5 separate regions of the Homo sapiens genome follow, and regions 1, 2, 4 and 5 are each linked to region 3. The links are contacts of gene promoters, found by promoter capture Hi-C in blood cells and fetal thymus (Javierre and others, 2016). All regions are on one chromosome and are shown on one strand. Each heading gives the region's core, a stretch centred on a gene start or on the middle of the fragment in contact. The rest is flanking DNA. Distances are from core to core; before and after follow the strand shown.

Region 1 (2,700 bases), core at 37-2,536, 790 kb after region 3:
TTCTCTTGGTAAATGGATGCAGCTTTGCCACATTGTCCGCTGCACATAACCACATACCTTCACCCACTGGGATAGAGGGTTGGATTGGTGCTGATGCGGGAGGGAGGCCAGCTTCCTGCAGCCCCACCTTGACCAAAGACGGAACTCCAGGGACTCTCTTTCCACTGCACCTCAAGGTTGATGCACAGAAACACACTGGGCATGGCTGAGAGTTTGGCATAAATGAACTCATCTTTGTAACCGTTTTATGAAATAGGCACTGTTATGATCATCCTCCCCATTTTACAGATGAGGAAGCCATCTTCCTCATCTGTTTCAAGAGGCTGAGTAACTTTTCCAGGGTCACACAGCTGATAAGAGGCCGAGCTGGGATTTGAACCCAGGCAGTCTGGCTCTAGGGCCAAGTCCTCAAGCGTTCCACAGCCTGCCGCCTCTGAATGCTTAGTGCAGAGTCTGGGTTCTACTCTAACCAGTCATATGTCTTTGGGATTAGCCTCTAAACCTGAGTTTCTCTTCTCTTCATTCAAGTGAGAATACAGGAGTTACCTGTTGATCCATGTCAGGTGAGTTAAGGGATGTGAGGAAGCACGTGGTCCACGCACATGTGATCCCATGGGTCATGGTGACATTACCTGTTTTGAGAGCTTGTGGTTGAGTTCCATGCTAAGGGTGTACTCCTCCCCTTGTTGGTCCTTCTCAACCAACTTGTTGAGATGTACTCCTCCCCTTGTTGGTCCTTCACAACTTGTTGTGCTTGTCTTGGATTGAAATTCTCCAGGAGGCAGAAGCAGAGTCTCTCACCTAATTAGCTTCCATGCATGCTAAGTCCCTGCTGTGCCAGCAAAGGGTCCTGCAGGGGGTCTGGTCTAAGAAGAGAGGGGTGGTCCCTGTAGTAGGCATGCATACTCCCTTTGAGGGGATGTCTTTGTTCTGGCAGACAGAACAAAATATCACAGACAACCGAAATTTATTTTCTCACAGTTCTGGAGGCTGGAAGTCTAACATCATGGTGCCAGTTTGGTGGGTGAAGGTTCTCTCCTTGGCTTGCAGAAAGCCACTTTCTTTTTGTGTCCTCACATGGCACAGAGAGGGAGAGAATGGGAGAGGAAGAAGGGAGAGGGAGGGTGGAGGAAGGGTGGGGAAGAGGGAGGAGAGAGAGATGGGGAGAGAGAGAGAGAGAGAGAGCTCTCTGGTGTCTCTTCATGATGGGCACTAATCCCATCATGAGGGCCCCACCCTCATGACCTCATCTAAACCTAATCACCTCCTAAAGTCCTCACCTCCAAATACCATCACATTGAGAGTTAGGGCTTCAACATATGAATTGTCGGGGGGACATAATTTAGCTCATAGCAGGAGATGATATGAAAAATAACCAATGATGTTAGTGTTTATAGGCAAGTAAGTAAAGTATATTTCTCATGGCTTTAGAGAGGAGGTAGGATTTGAGCTGCACCTAGAAGTACAGCCCAGGCTGGGAAGCATTTACAGCACAGGGCCCTGAGGCACAGGAACAGCCCTTCACCCCCTCGACAGGGCCATGCCCTTCTGAAGACATGAATGGGGTCAGGGAGGTCAGCGGGAGGGAGATGAGAGACACTGGCCAGAGAGACACCTCCTGCCTTCAGCCAGGTTTTGTTTTTCTGTAGGGAAGGAGATGGTTTGTCAAAGATACTATTTCTTTTTTCTTTTCTCTTCTCTTTTCTTTCTTTATTTTATTTTATTTTATTTTATTTTATTTTATTTTATTTTATTTTTTGAGACGAAGTTTTGTTCTTGTTGCCCAGGCTGGAGCGCAATGGCATGATCTTGGCTCACTGCAACCTACCTACACCTCCTGGGTTCAAGCGATTCTCCTGCCTCAGCCTCCCAAGTAGCTGGGATTACAGGCATGCACCACCATGCCTGGCTAATTTTTGTATTTTTAGTAGAGACGGGGTTTCTCCATCTTGGCCAGGATGGTCTCAAACTCCAGACCTCAAATGATCTGCCTGCCTTGGCCTCCCAAAGTGCTGAGATTACAGGTGTGAGCCACTGCACCTGGCCTAAAGCTACTATTTCTTAACCTGAGCAGGGCTGAAATTTTAGGGGCTTTCTTCCCAAGGCAGGTTTTGTGAGCAAGACAGCAGCAGCGCCACCATCCCCAGAGGAGGACACGGTGGGATTGAGGGAGGAGGAGTTCTTGGAAGTTCATTTCTGTGGGTAGTGTCATCTGAATCACGGTCAGAAATTGCCATTGGGGAGATACCATCAGGGATAACACATTGTTCAGCAGAAGAACCTCTAGATCTTTCAGTGGTGCCATGGCCTGCGGTAGCTTTTTGGTTTTCGGGTCTTCTGGGAGTTTGGATTGAACAGACACCCCGGATACAGATCATCCACAGGATGGAGATCTTGACTCACAGGGCCTTTGGTGTGGCATCTGGGTGCATGGACACAGCCTTCCCTACAGAATCCCACAGAGGGAAGGCCATCCAACTCTTCTTTATGTTATTTTTATTGGACTGTCTTCAGTGGGCAGAGAGTTGAGGTTTAGGGTTTTTTGTTTGTTTGTTTTTGGATCTTCACTGTTTCATTGTGATAAAATATACATAACATAAAATGTATCATTTTAACCATTTTAAGTATACTGCGCAGTGGCAGTAAGTATATTCACATTGTGAATTGTTTCCTCTTCTCAAACTGATGGGGTTGGAGAAG
Region 2 (2,700 bases), core at 129-2,628, 720 kb after region 3:
GTGTCCAACACAAAATCTCAGTAATTGAAATCCCAGTTCATAGCAGAGAGACCAGTTTAGGAAATTGTTTCAGTAATTAAACTGAGACACGTTGGGTTGCCTGACCCAAAGTGGTATCTGCTGTGTTGGAGCAAAGAAGAGAGTTTTGAGGTATTAAGATTATAGAATGGTAGGGCTTGGCGCCTCACTTATTGTATGCGATGGAGTGAATAAGGGAGATGAGAAAGATAACTCCCAAGTTTTTGGCTTGTTTTACTTGACTAAGGGAATATCAGTAGGGACATCTTTAGGGATGATGGAAAGGGAGTATTAGTTGATATACAGCAGTTGACATATGGGTCAGGAGTTGAGAAGAGTGGTGTAGACTAGAGACAAAGGTTTTGGAGTTGTTAGAAAATGTGGGGTAATAGAAACTATAGGAATGAAGAAGATGACCAGGGAGCGTATGTACATTAAGAAAAGAAGAGGGCCAAGGGTCAAATTCTGGAAGGGATGAACAGAGGAAGAGAAAACCCAAGGAGGAAACTGACAACCACAGAAAGCGGGAGAAAACCAATAGAAGATGTAATCACAGAAGCTGGAGGGAGAATGTGGTTTACACAAGTAGGTGCCATCTGTACGATTACATACTGAAAAGATGTCAAGTAAGATAAATTTGAAAAGTTCCTTTGCATTTTTCAATAAGAAGGCCATTGGTAACTTAGATGAAGGCAAGGTTGGTAGACATCATATTGTGTATACAGCAAATGTTGACAACTTTTTCAAGAAGCTTGGCAGTGAGGAGGATGAGAGATGTGAGAAGACAGCTAATGTGGGATTATTGTTATGTTATGTTTTTAAAATTTAATCATGGGAGAGAACTGAACATTGTAATTGGAAAGGACCTATGGAGAAGGAGAATTTAAAAGACTTAGAGAAAGAGTGGAAGGGCAGTTGATGGATTCTAGCTCCTGAAGAAGTGTGGTGAGATGAAATTCTGAGAACATATGTCAGAAAGGAGATAGAGAAGGGTGGTCCAGTTATGTTTACAGATAAGTAGAGGTAGAGGACGAAAAGAGGAGTTAGGTTAAGGAGTTCTTTTCTGATACCTTCCGTTTCTTTTGTGAAGGAAGAAGGGAGGTCACCTACAGCGAATGAAGTGTAGGGAGGTGTTGATAAGAGGGAAAGAAAAGGGGAAAGAGGAGATTTGAAATGGCTACTGTGGAAAATGGGGTAGAACGAGCTGTCTTGGGAACCACAGGATTTCTGTCAGCGTTGAGGGCTTAGCTAAAGTATGTGAATTTATAGGGCAAACCATGTTATGTAATGTACTTCAGCAGTACAAATGTAAGGGCAGATAGTGGAAATGGTTGGATTGATCCAGAGCTGGGAAGTATAAGGCAGCAAGGAAATAAGAGCATCTTGTTAATAATGTGAATTTAGATCAGAGATTCTCAAAGCTAGTTGCAGGTCAGAATCGCCAGTGGAATTTACTAGCAAGTAGAGATACCTGTCACCCGCCACAGATCTACTGAATCAGAACCTCTGGGTTCTGACATTTTTACCTTAAAAAATTCCATAAGTGGCTCTGATGTTCAGCAGGATGACAGGTGTTCTAAATCTAGGCAAATTTATTTTAATCCAGAGCATGAAAGTATTCTTGCTCCAGTGCAGAGCATGTGGCATACACACTTTAGCCAGTTTGGCACTCTAGTCCCTAAGAGGTGGATAATTTTGAGACATCTTTGAGAAGTGGGTGCGACAGTACTTTCAGTAAGTTCGGGAATGATTGTGGATCTGGGCAAAGGTGGGCAGGGTTGTGAAGAACTTAGTGTAGTTCTGTGACTTTCCTTGCAGATGTAACTAAAGTTCATGAGGCCCTGGAAATCACCTTTAGCCTTTCTGGAACACCAAGGTCATAGTCTGTGAATGTCCGCATTTCGTGGCTGCCTTAGTAGTGGGAGTAGTGGGCACTAGAACAAACTGTGCTGTGGGGATACAAAGCTTTAACCACCATGCCCCTGCCCTCTGCCTTCAACTGGTATATATGCACCATCTAATCTAGTAAGTAAGCGTTGTTTTCCATGCCTGCCTATGCCCATACTCCATGCCCTTTAACCCACAGTTTATTTATAATATCTAAGAGAAACTCCAGTGAATTTTCAAACCGAGATTCAATCGAATTTGTGCCCGAAAAGTAGTGATAAATGAATTTTTTTTTTTTTGAGACAGAATCTCTTTCTGACACCCAAGCTGGAGTGCAGTGGCGCGATCTCAGCTCACTGCAAGTTCCGCCTCCGGGGTTCATGCCATTCTCCTGCCTCAGCCTCCTGAGTAGCTGGGACTACAGGCGCCCGCCACCACGCCTGGCTAATTTTTTGTATTTTTAGTAGAGACAGGGTTTCACCATGTTAGCTAGGATGGTCTGGATCTTCTGACCTCGTGATCCGCCCACCTCAGCCTCCCAAAGTGCTGGAATTACAGGCGTGAGCCTCTGCGCCTGGCCTTCTTTTTGAGATGGAGTCTTGCTCTGTTCCCCAGGCTGCAGTGCGGTGGCACAATCTCAGCTCATTACAACCTCCGCCTCCTGGATTCAAGTAATTCTCCTGCCTCAGCCTCCCAAGTAGCTGGGATTACAGGTGTGTGCCACCACACCCAGCTAATTTTTGTATCTTTTAGTAGAGACAGAATTTCCTTAGAGTGGATTCTAGTCATTGCAGA
Region 3 (2,700 bases), core at 88-2,587:
ACACCTCCTAACCTTCCTTTTCCTAGTCTTCCCTATCTTAATACAAAGATCATCCATCCTGTAGCTCAGACCAAAACTATTGTGGAGTCATCTCTGATTCTTTCTTTCCCTTACCTGTACATCTACTTCATCAGCAAGTTCTGTCCACAGTGCCTCCGAAATACATCCCAAATTCATCTGTTCCATTCCATGCCCACTAATAATACCCTATCCCAAACCGCTCTCCAATGATATAATACCTGATTTTCCTGCTCCCGTTCTGGTCACCCTATCCATCATTTATTCTCCACCAACAGCCAGTGACCTTTATAAAAGCAAACTTAGATTCCTCTCCCCTACTTAAAACCCTCCACTGACTTCCCATTGACTTAAAATAAAACCTAAACTCCTTTCTAAGACTTACAAGACCCTATCTGTTCTGGCACCTGCCTATTTCTCTGGCCTAATCCCCCTACGATTCTCCCCACTGCTTGTTAATCCTATAGCATTAGACTGTCCCTAAAATATGGTCAAGTATGGGGCCTTGGCTCCTATTCCCTCTACCCTGATTCATGACTCAGTGCATGCATTATCGCCTCAGAGTCACATATTAACTACTATATTTAAAGTAGTGCTTTCCTCTTTCGCACTCTCATATTTCGAGGCTTATTTTCGGCCCCCTAACCTCACCTCCCACTGGAATGTAACCTCCAGCACCTCGTACACTAAAGAAGTGAATATATTCAATAACTTTATTAAATGAATGGCTAACTATAGGCTTCCATGGCACTCAACTGTGTAAATAGAAGAATCGTTTCTAATACCACGATGGAAAGCACAGAGGATCTTGAGTGAGATGACTTAGGTTTGAGTATTGCCCTGCCACTTACTGGGCTGTATGACTCAGATAACTTACCCTCTATACGTAGAAATGTTAAATCAATACAACAGGAATGCTTACTCTTTCTATATCAAATAACTACAGTGATAAACAAATAAAATAACACATAATTGGGCGCTCGGTGAAATGTAAAGCGCTGTTCAAACGCTAACAAGGTCTTGGTAAAAGAAACGGCGACGGTTGTGAAGGGAGGCAAAGAGAAGGAAAAAGCTACGATGCTAGGATACTTCTGAGCAACGGGTGGCTCTCACTGGAGACTGGGTTCTTGATAACCGTCCATCCTAACCCCACCATCGCTGCCCTCCGGTCTTACTCGATCCTTTCCCCTTAGTCTCATGTCTTTTCCCTTAGTTTTCCTCCCACCCCCGACGAATGTCAGGAACTACCCACCTCACAGGCCGCACCATGGTCCCTTTCAAGGCTTGGTATTTACAGTTCTCAAATTCTTGTTGGCTTCAGCGGCGGTTTCAATTCCCGCCCAAAACCAGACTTCGGAGCCCTCCGCCCCCTGTTACCAGTCGTCCAATCATCACCAGCCATGCTTGCGGCGGCGCACGCGCTGTGGGGAAAGCGAATTTGCTCCCGCCCTCCCCAAGGCACCGCTTTTCCGTATCCGGTCCACCAGAGCCGAGTTTGTGCTTTGTCCCTGCACTTTCGTCACAACGGCGGATTTGCCCTGTCTCTGAAATACAGAATAACAATAGAAATACACCTTATTGCACCTTTCAAATTGTTAAATTGAAACAGGTTGGGACATAGGGGCACTTGGACTGAGAAATTTTCTACAAGATGCCAGGAAATAGAAAAGGATGTGGCGAATCTACGTTCGCGGATCCGCGGTGTGGAAAAAGTATGTCGGCAAGTCAGCTGGTTTCCCAGTGCAGGACGCGCTGACAGCTCGAGTGAGCGGACTGCCCAGGACTTCGGAACTAGACGAGGTGAGCCCAGAACCGAGTGAGGATGCCCTTTCAGACTGACAACCGTTACAGAGGGATTAGTCCCCTCACCCGGCTGAAGTTTCTCAGCTCGACCGTCTGTCTTCCTTTTCCCTGATTAATGTGAGCCTCAGAGCCTCCGCTCTGTTGGCTGTGTGTGTTCGGTCCAGACCTTCCATCCCATTTTCTTATGGGAAACCTTCCTGGATTTCACGGTTGCTAAAACTGAACCCAGGCTTCAGGATAGACCATTAGTCTAAAAAAAGAGCGAGAGGAGAAAGAACTAAAGTTATCAGTTTCTTGAAACACAAGTCTAAATGTTGAACCAGAGCTTTTGTGTCTGCCTTCTCTTTTTTTTTTCAACATTCCTGATTCATTCATATTTTTGCATTTATCAGTGGTTGATTCTTTTTTATTGCTGTGTAGTATTTATCTCATAAAATAAACAAGTTTACTATTCTCCTACTAATACGCATTTTGGTTGTTTCCAGTTTGGGGTATTATAAATAAAACTTATATGAGCATTCTTCTGGGTGTACTTTAGCGAACATATGCGTGTGTGTGTATTTGGATATATACTTAGGAATGAAATTTCTACATCATAGAATATACCTTTATGTAGTTTTGGTAGTTTTCTAACATTATAAAAATTTGTATTGCTTTACGTTTAATTTTAATTCTTTCTGAGTAAAACAAATACCCTATCTCTTTGCATTATGGTGAAATAGACGAAGATTTTTGTGTATAGCCTACATACAGATTTGAAAATATAGTCTGGATAATTCAACTTAGCCCCGCCCCACGACATGTACAAAAGTCCTTTGAGTTTTTTTTATATTTCAGGTGATATCTTTTTAAATAACCGTATGAATAATTTTTTGTTCT
Region 4 (2,700 bases), core at 38-2,537, 640 kb after region 3:
ACAGTATAGTAAATCTTTACATAGCATTTACATTGTATTAGGTATTATGAGTAATCTGGAGATGGTTTAAAGTATACAGGAGGATGTGCATGGATTACATGCAAACACTATGCCATTTTATATAAGGAACTTGAGCATCTGTGGATTCTGGCACCCACAGGGAGTCCTGGAACCAATCCCCTGTGGATACCAAGGAATGACTGTAATAACTCACAATACTTGCCAGTGGATTAAAGCCAACCACTAAAAGCAGAGATTATGAAAATGAATGAAAGAGAAAGACCCAACAATATGCAATTGAGAAGAAAGACACACAAAACAATATCAGTCTGAAGGTTTGAAATTGAAGGGTGAGAAAAAAAAGATCATGTAAATTCCAAATGAATGTTGAGCAGCAAGATTAATATATGACAAGATAAAATTTGTTGCAAAAAGAACAAATAGAGAAAAAGATAGATACTATACAATAATAAAATGAATCATTCTCCAAGATGATGTAGCAATCATGACCTTGCATGCACCTAACAACATAGTTTTAAGTTATATAAAAGGCCAAAACAGATCATTTTATACACATAGTAGATTTTTAATATTCTTCTAACAGCAAATGAGAAATCTAACAAAAAAAACTCTGTAAGAATATTCGAAGAAAATATCTATAAATTTATCTGTTTTATATAGAACTCTGTACCCAATAAAAATTATAAATTTTTCTTCTTAGAAAATTTACAAAATTGGCCATATTGTGAAGACTTTAGCAATTTTCAAAGAATTTATATTATGCATATTTGTATCAATATGCAATTAAATTAGACATCTGCAAGCAAAGAGGAGAGGTGTTTTTTTGTTTCTGTTTTTGTTTTGAGACAGTCTCACTCTGTCACCCAGGCAGGATTACAGTTCACTGCAATCTCTGCCTCCTGGGTTCAAGTGATTCTTGTGCCTCAGCCTCCCAAGTAGCTGGGATTACAGGCATGTGCCACAGTGCCTGGCTGAGAGTTTTTTTTTAAAGAAGTTAAAAAAAAATAAAAAAACTGCATGTTTGGAAATTTAAAAATATCTTTCTAGTTAACTTTTAGATTCAACAGGAAATAATAATGAAAAGTTGAAAATATTCTAAACGAAGTGAAAATAAAATAATCACAAAAAATGTGTGATGCAGTAAGGTAGTATTAAAAGATGTGATTAGAACCTAAAATTTATCTGTAAAATAAAAGAAAGATAAAAAGGAAATGAGTTTGCAGTCAATTCAAGAAGGGAGAAAATAAACAAACAAACCAGAAGGTGCCACAAAGGGTAGAAAAAAGGAAATAATAAAGGTAAAGTAAAAATCAATAAATTAAGAAAAAATTACAAAAAGTTCATATAGTTAAAATTTGAGTTTTTGAATGAAAGAAAAATTTCTAGTGAGGCAAATCAAGGAAAATGACACAAATAAATAAAATATTAAGAACAAAAAAGGGAACAGAAACAAAACACATTAGAATAGAGATTAAACAAACCATAAGAGAAAATGGAAAAATTTATGCAAATAAATTTGAAAATTCAGAATAAAAGATTAAGGTTTCTTTTGCAAGGATACAGGAAGAATAGATACTGGGATGAAATTAGCAATCTTGGCCACACCTTCTAGTCCTACTTTATTGAGTTTTTTAAAATCATAATTTGATAAATTATAAATTGAATGTGCTTTCTTTATCTTTCGAGGAAAGTGTATGTTTTCCCACCTGAAGGTGGGAAACGATTAGGATGGTGGAACAACATGGTAATAGGATTCTGGATCTCTGAGACTGCAGCACACTAATTGTGTCCTGAACTGAATACCTCTGGATATCTTGGGCATGAAAAATAAGTTTCCATCTTGTATAATCTACTGCTATTCAGTCTTTTTATGTTGCCTGCAACCAAGCCTAATCCTAACTGATACACAAACACTTTAACAGAGACTATTTATAAAAATATATTACAAAACCACTCATAATGTCAAAGTACTATGAATGGTGCCCCCTAGAGTTGTGCTATGGAAAGGTCCTGAAAGCTGAAACTTGATAATTATTCCTATCAGAGTCAGGAGGAAACAGCTGCTTACCATATCTACTCCTTTTCAATATTGTATCTGAAGTATAAGTTAATGTAATAAGGCAAGAAAAATACATAATATAAGAATTTAAAAGCAGAAAGAAAGCTGTTCTTATTTTCAGATGATATAATAGTCCGTAGGACACTTTATAAACTATTAGAATTAATGAGTGATCACTAAGCTGGATATAAGACCAACAAACAAATCAATAGCCTACTTAATCACCAGTAATAGACAATTAGAAATGTAATCTTCAAAAATGTCATATTTGCAAAAATGTGTAGGATGCCTGTGAAGAAAATAATAAAATTTTATTGAAGGAAATAGAACAAGACATGGTATATTAATTAAGGTGTTTTTACATGCAAGTAACATATATCCAACAGGAAGTGTCTTGAAGTAATATTTATTACTTCACATTACATGAAGCCCAGCATGGGCAGGTTCAGGGTTGCTTAATCCTGCAACTCAAGGATGTCATCAAACACTCAGGATCTTTCCATCTTTCTGCTGAAGCATCTCCAACAAGGCTTTTATCTCAGGTTTGTCCTCTCCCAGTTTCAGGATTGATGTCATAGTTAGAGTCTATGTGTAAAGACCTCTTCACATGACTCTATTCC
Region 5 (2,700 bases), core at 115-2,614, 680 kb after region 3:
GGTTATATATCTTTTTTGTTTTCCCTTGGATGATATACAGAGTCCTTCGAAATCACCAATTGTTCATCATCAACACTGAACATAGTCTTAGGCCAGGTTGTGTCAGGCACGACTATGTCTTCAGTCATTGTTTTCCGAGTGTTGGCAACTGCATTTGTGGCATCCTCCATGCTAAACTACTTTTGAAAACTTTCTACACCCTTATCTCTGTTCACTGTTGCTAGCATGCTATTCAAGAATATATTTTTATATTTACCCTTTATTGATCTAAGGATATCCTGGTCACATGCCTTAATTAATGAAGTCACATTTCGGGGAAAGTACATGTTATAAACATTATTTTTTATGGGAATTTCAGCTGGAGGATGAGCAGAACAGTTGTCAAGGAATAACAAAATCTTACAGTCTAGCTTCACTGCAGTAAGCATGAGCCGCTAGTACAAAATGTTTGTGAAACTAGTCAGAAAAGAGGTTTCTGGTGATACATGCCTTTTCTTTTCCTTTTTTTTTTTTAGCATAATAATGGACTGGTAAGAAATTTACTCCTTGAATACAGTGAGGACGTGAGGTTTTCCCTGTCAAAGCAAGTTTACACTTATATGTGTATTAGCACATCCCAGCACAGTTATTCTGTCTTTGGCATCCTTAATTCCTGTAAAGGCTGTCTCAGCAGCTGTAATTGGTGTCTTTCTAGGATAATAATGTCAAAACAGTGATGTTTCATTGGCATTATAGACTTGTTCTAGTGTCAGATGTTTATCAGCAATGACCTTGGCAAACTCATCAATGAATTTCTCTGTTGCTTCATGATCACCGTGTTTTATCCCTACATGTCTTTAAAAATTTAATGCTGTATCTTTTTTTTATTATTATTATTATACTTTAAGTTCCAGGGTACATGTGCACAACGTACAGGTTTGTTTCATATGTATACATGTGCCATGTTGGTTTGCTGCCCCCATTAACTCGTCATTTACATTAGGTATTTCTCCTAATGCTATCCTTCCCCCAGCCCCCCACCCCCCGACAGGCCCTGGTGTGTGATGTTCCCTGCCCTGTGTCCAGGTGTTTTCATTGTTCAATCCCACTTATGAGTGAGAACGTGCGGTGTTTGGTTTTCTGTCCTTGCAATAGTTTGCTCAGAATGATGGTTTCCAGCTTCATCCATATCCCTGCAAAGGACTTGAACTCATCCTTTTTTATGGCTGCATAGTATTCCGTGGTGTATGTGTGCCACATTTTCTTAATCCAGTCTATCATTGATGGACATTTGGGTTGGTTCCAAGTCTTTGCTATTGTGAATAGTGCCACAGTAAACGTATGTGTGCATGTGTCTTTATAGTAGCATGATTTATAATCCTTTGGGTATATACCCAGTAATGAAATCACTGGGTCAAATAGTATTTCTAGTTCTAGATCCTTGAGGAATCACCACAGTGTCTTCCATCTTCCACAATGGTTGAACTAGTTTACACTCCCACCAATAGTGTAAAAGTGTTCCTGTTTCTCCACATCCTCTCCAGCACCTGTTGTTTCCTGACTTTTTAATGATTGCCATTCTAACTGGTGTGAGATGGTATCTCATTGTGGTTTTGTTTTGGATTTCTCTGATGACCAGTGATGATGAGCATTTTTTCATGTGTCTATTGGCTGCATAAATGTCTCCTTTTGAAAAGTGTCTATTCATATCCTTTGCCCACTTTTGGATGGGGTTGTTTGATTTTTTTCTTGTAAATTTGTTTGAGTTCTTTGTAGATTCTGGATATTCACCCTTTGTCAGATGGGTAGATTGCAAAAATTTTTTCCCATTCTGTAGGTTGCCTGTTCACTCTGATGGTAGTTTCTTGTGCTGTGCAGAAACTCTTTAATTAGATCCCATTTGTCTATTTTGGCTTTTGTTGCCACTGCTTTTGGTGTTTTAGTCATGAAGTCCTTGCCCATGCCTATGTCCTGAATGGTATTACCTAGGTTTTCTTCTAGAGTTTTTATGGTTTTAGGTCTAACATTTAAGTCTTGAATCCATCTTGAAAATTAATTTTTATATAAGGTGTAAGGAAGGGATCCAGTTTCAGCTTTCTAGCCAGTTTTCCCAGCACCATTTATTAAATAGGGAATCCTTTCCCCATTTCTTGTTTTTGTCAGGTTTGTCAAAGATCAGGTGGTTGTAGATGTGTGGTGTTATTTCTGAGGCCTCTGTTCTGTTCCGTTCCATTGGTCTATATCTCTGTTTTGGTACCAGTACCATGCTGTTTTGGTTACTGTAGCCTTTTAGTATAGTTTGAAATCAGGTAGCATGATGCCTCTAGCTTTGTTCCTTTTTGCTTAGGATTGTCTTGGCAATGTGGGCTCTTTTTTGGTTCCATATGAACTTTAAAGTAGTTTTTTCCAATTCTGTGAAGAATGTCATTGGTAGCTTGATGGGGATGGCATTGAATCTATAAATTACCTTGGGCAGTATGGCCATTTTCACGATATTGATTCTTCCTATCCATGAGCATGGAATGTTCTTCCATTCGTTTGTGTCCTCTTTTATTTCGTTGAGCAGTGCTTTGTAGTTCTCCTTGAAGAGGTCCTTCACATCCCTTGTAAGTTGGATTCCTAGGTATTTTATTCTCTTTGTAGCAATTGTGAATGGGAGTTCACTCATGATTTGGCTCTCTGTTATTGGTGTGTAGGAATGCTTGTGATTTTTGCACATTG

The links. Contacts are between HindIII fragments. The CHiCAGO score rates a contact against its expected background, and 5 or more counts as called.
Region 1: a fragment that was not itself captured here is called in contact with the fragment with the promoter of RAD51AP1 in region 3 in 2 of 17 cell types (neutrophils and activated CD4 T cells); the score reaches 6.9 in neutrophils.
Region 2: a contact is called between a fragment that was not itself captured here and the fragment with the promoter of RAD51AP1 in region 3, in 1 of 17 cell types (activated CD4 T cells). The highest score is 5.8, in activated CD4 T cells.
Region 4: a fragment that was not itself captured here is called in contact with the fragment with the promoter of RAD51AP1 in region 3 in 2 of 17 cell types (monocytes and neutrophils); the score reaches 5.2 in monocytes.
Region 5: a fragment that was not itself captured here is called in contact with the fragment with the promoter of RAD51AP1 in region 3 in 1 of 17 cell types (neutrophils); the score reaches 5.3 in neutrophils.

What each region holds. Positions count from the first base shown.
Region 1 is chr12:3,744,838-3,747,537 of GRCh38, reverse strand. The region is part of intron 1 of CRACR2A (calcium release activated channel regulator 2A); the gene reads left to right. Among named protein-coding and RNA genes, the nearest start is that of CRACR2A, 6.9 kb to the left of the region's middle. The HindIII fragment of the contact is 4,064 bases long and covers 1-2,700 here.
Region 2 is chr12:3,816,695-3,819,394 of GRCh38, reverse strand. The region is part of intron 6 of PARP11 (poly(ADP-ribose) polymerase family member 11); the gene reads left to right. Among named protein-coding and RNA genes, the nearest start is that of PARP11-AS1, 52 kb to the left of the region's middle. The HindIII fragment of the contact is 1,214 bases long and covers 772-1,985 here.
Region 3 is chr12:4,537,527-4,540,226 of GRCh38, reverse strand. It overlaps RAD51AP1 (RAD51 associated protein 1), which reads right to left and starts at 1,337. Exons shown (of 9, transcript NM_006479.5): 1 at 1,271-1,337. The coding sequence starts at 1,287. FERRY3 (FERRY endosomal RAB5 effector complex subunit 3) reads left to right here and starts at 1,758. Exons shown (of 14, transcript NM_020374.4): 1 at 1,758-1,818. RefSeq lists enhancers at 905-1,513, 1,514-2,123 and a silencer at 1,729-1,778. The HindIII fragment of the contact is 5,379 bases long and covers 1-2,700 here.
Region 4 is chr12:3,900,600-3,903,299 of GRCh38, reverse strand. All of the region lies in intron 1 of PARP11-AS1 (PARP11 antisense RNA 1), which reads right to left. Among named protein-coding and RNA genes, the nearest start is that of PARP11, 29 kb to the right of the region's middle. The HindIII fragment of the contact is 9,522 bases long and covers 1-2,700 here.
Region 5 is chr12:3,855,451-3,858,150 of GRCh38, reverse strand. All of the region lies in intron 1 of PARP11 (poly(ADP-ribose) polymerase family member 11), which reads left to right. Among named protein-coding and RNA genes, the nearest start is that of PARP11-AS1, 13 kb to the left of the region's middle. The HindIII fragment of the contact is 3,730 bases long and covers 1-2,700 here.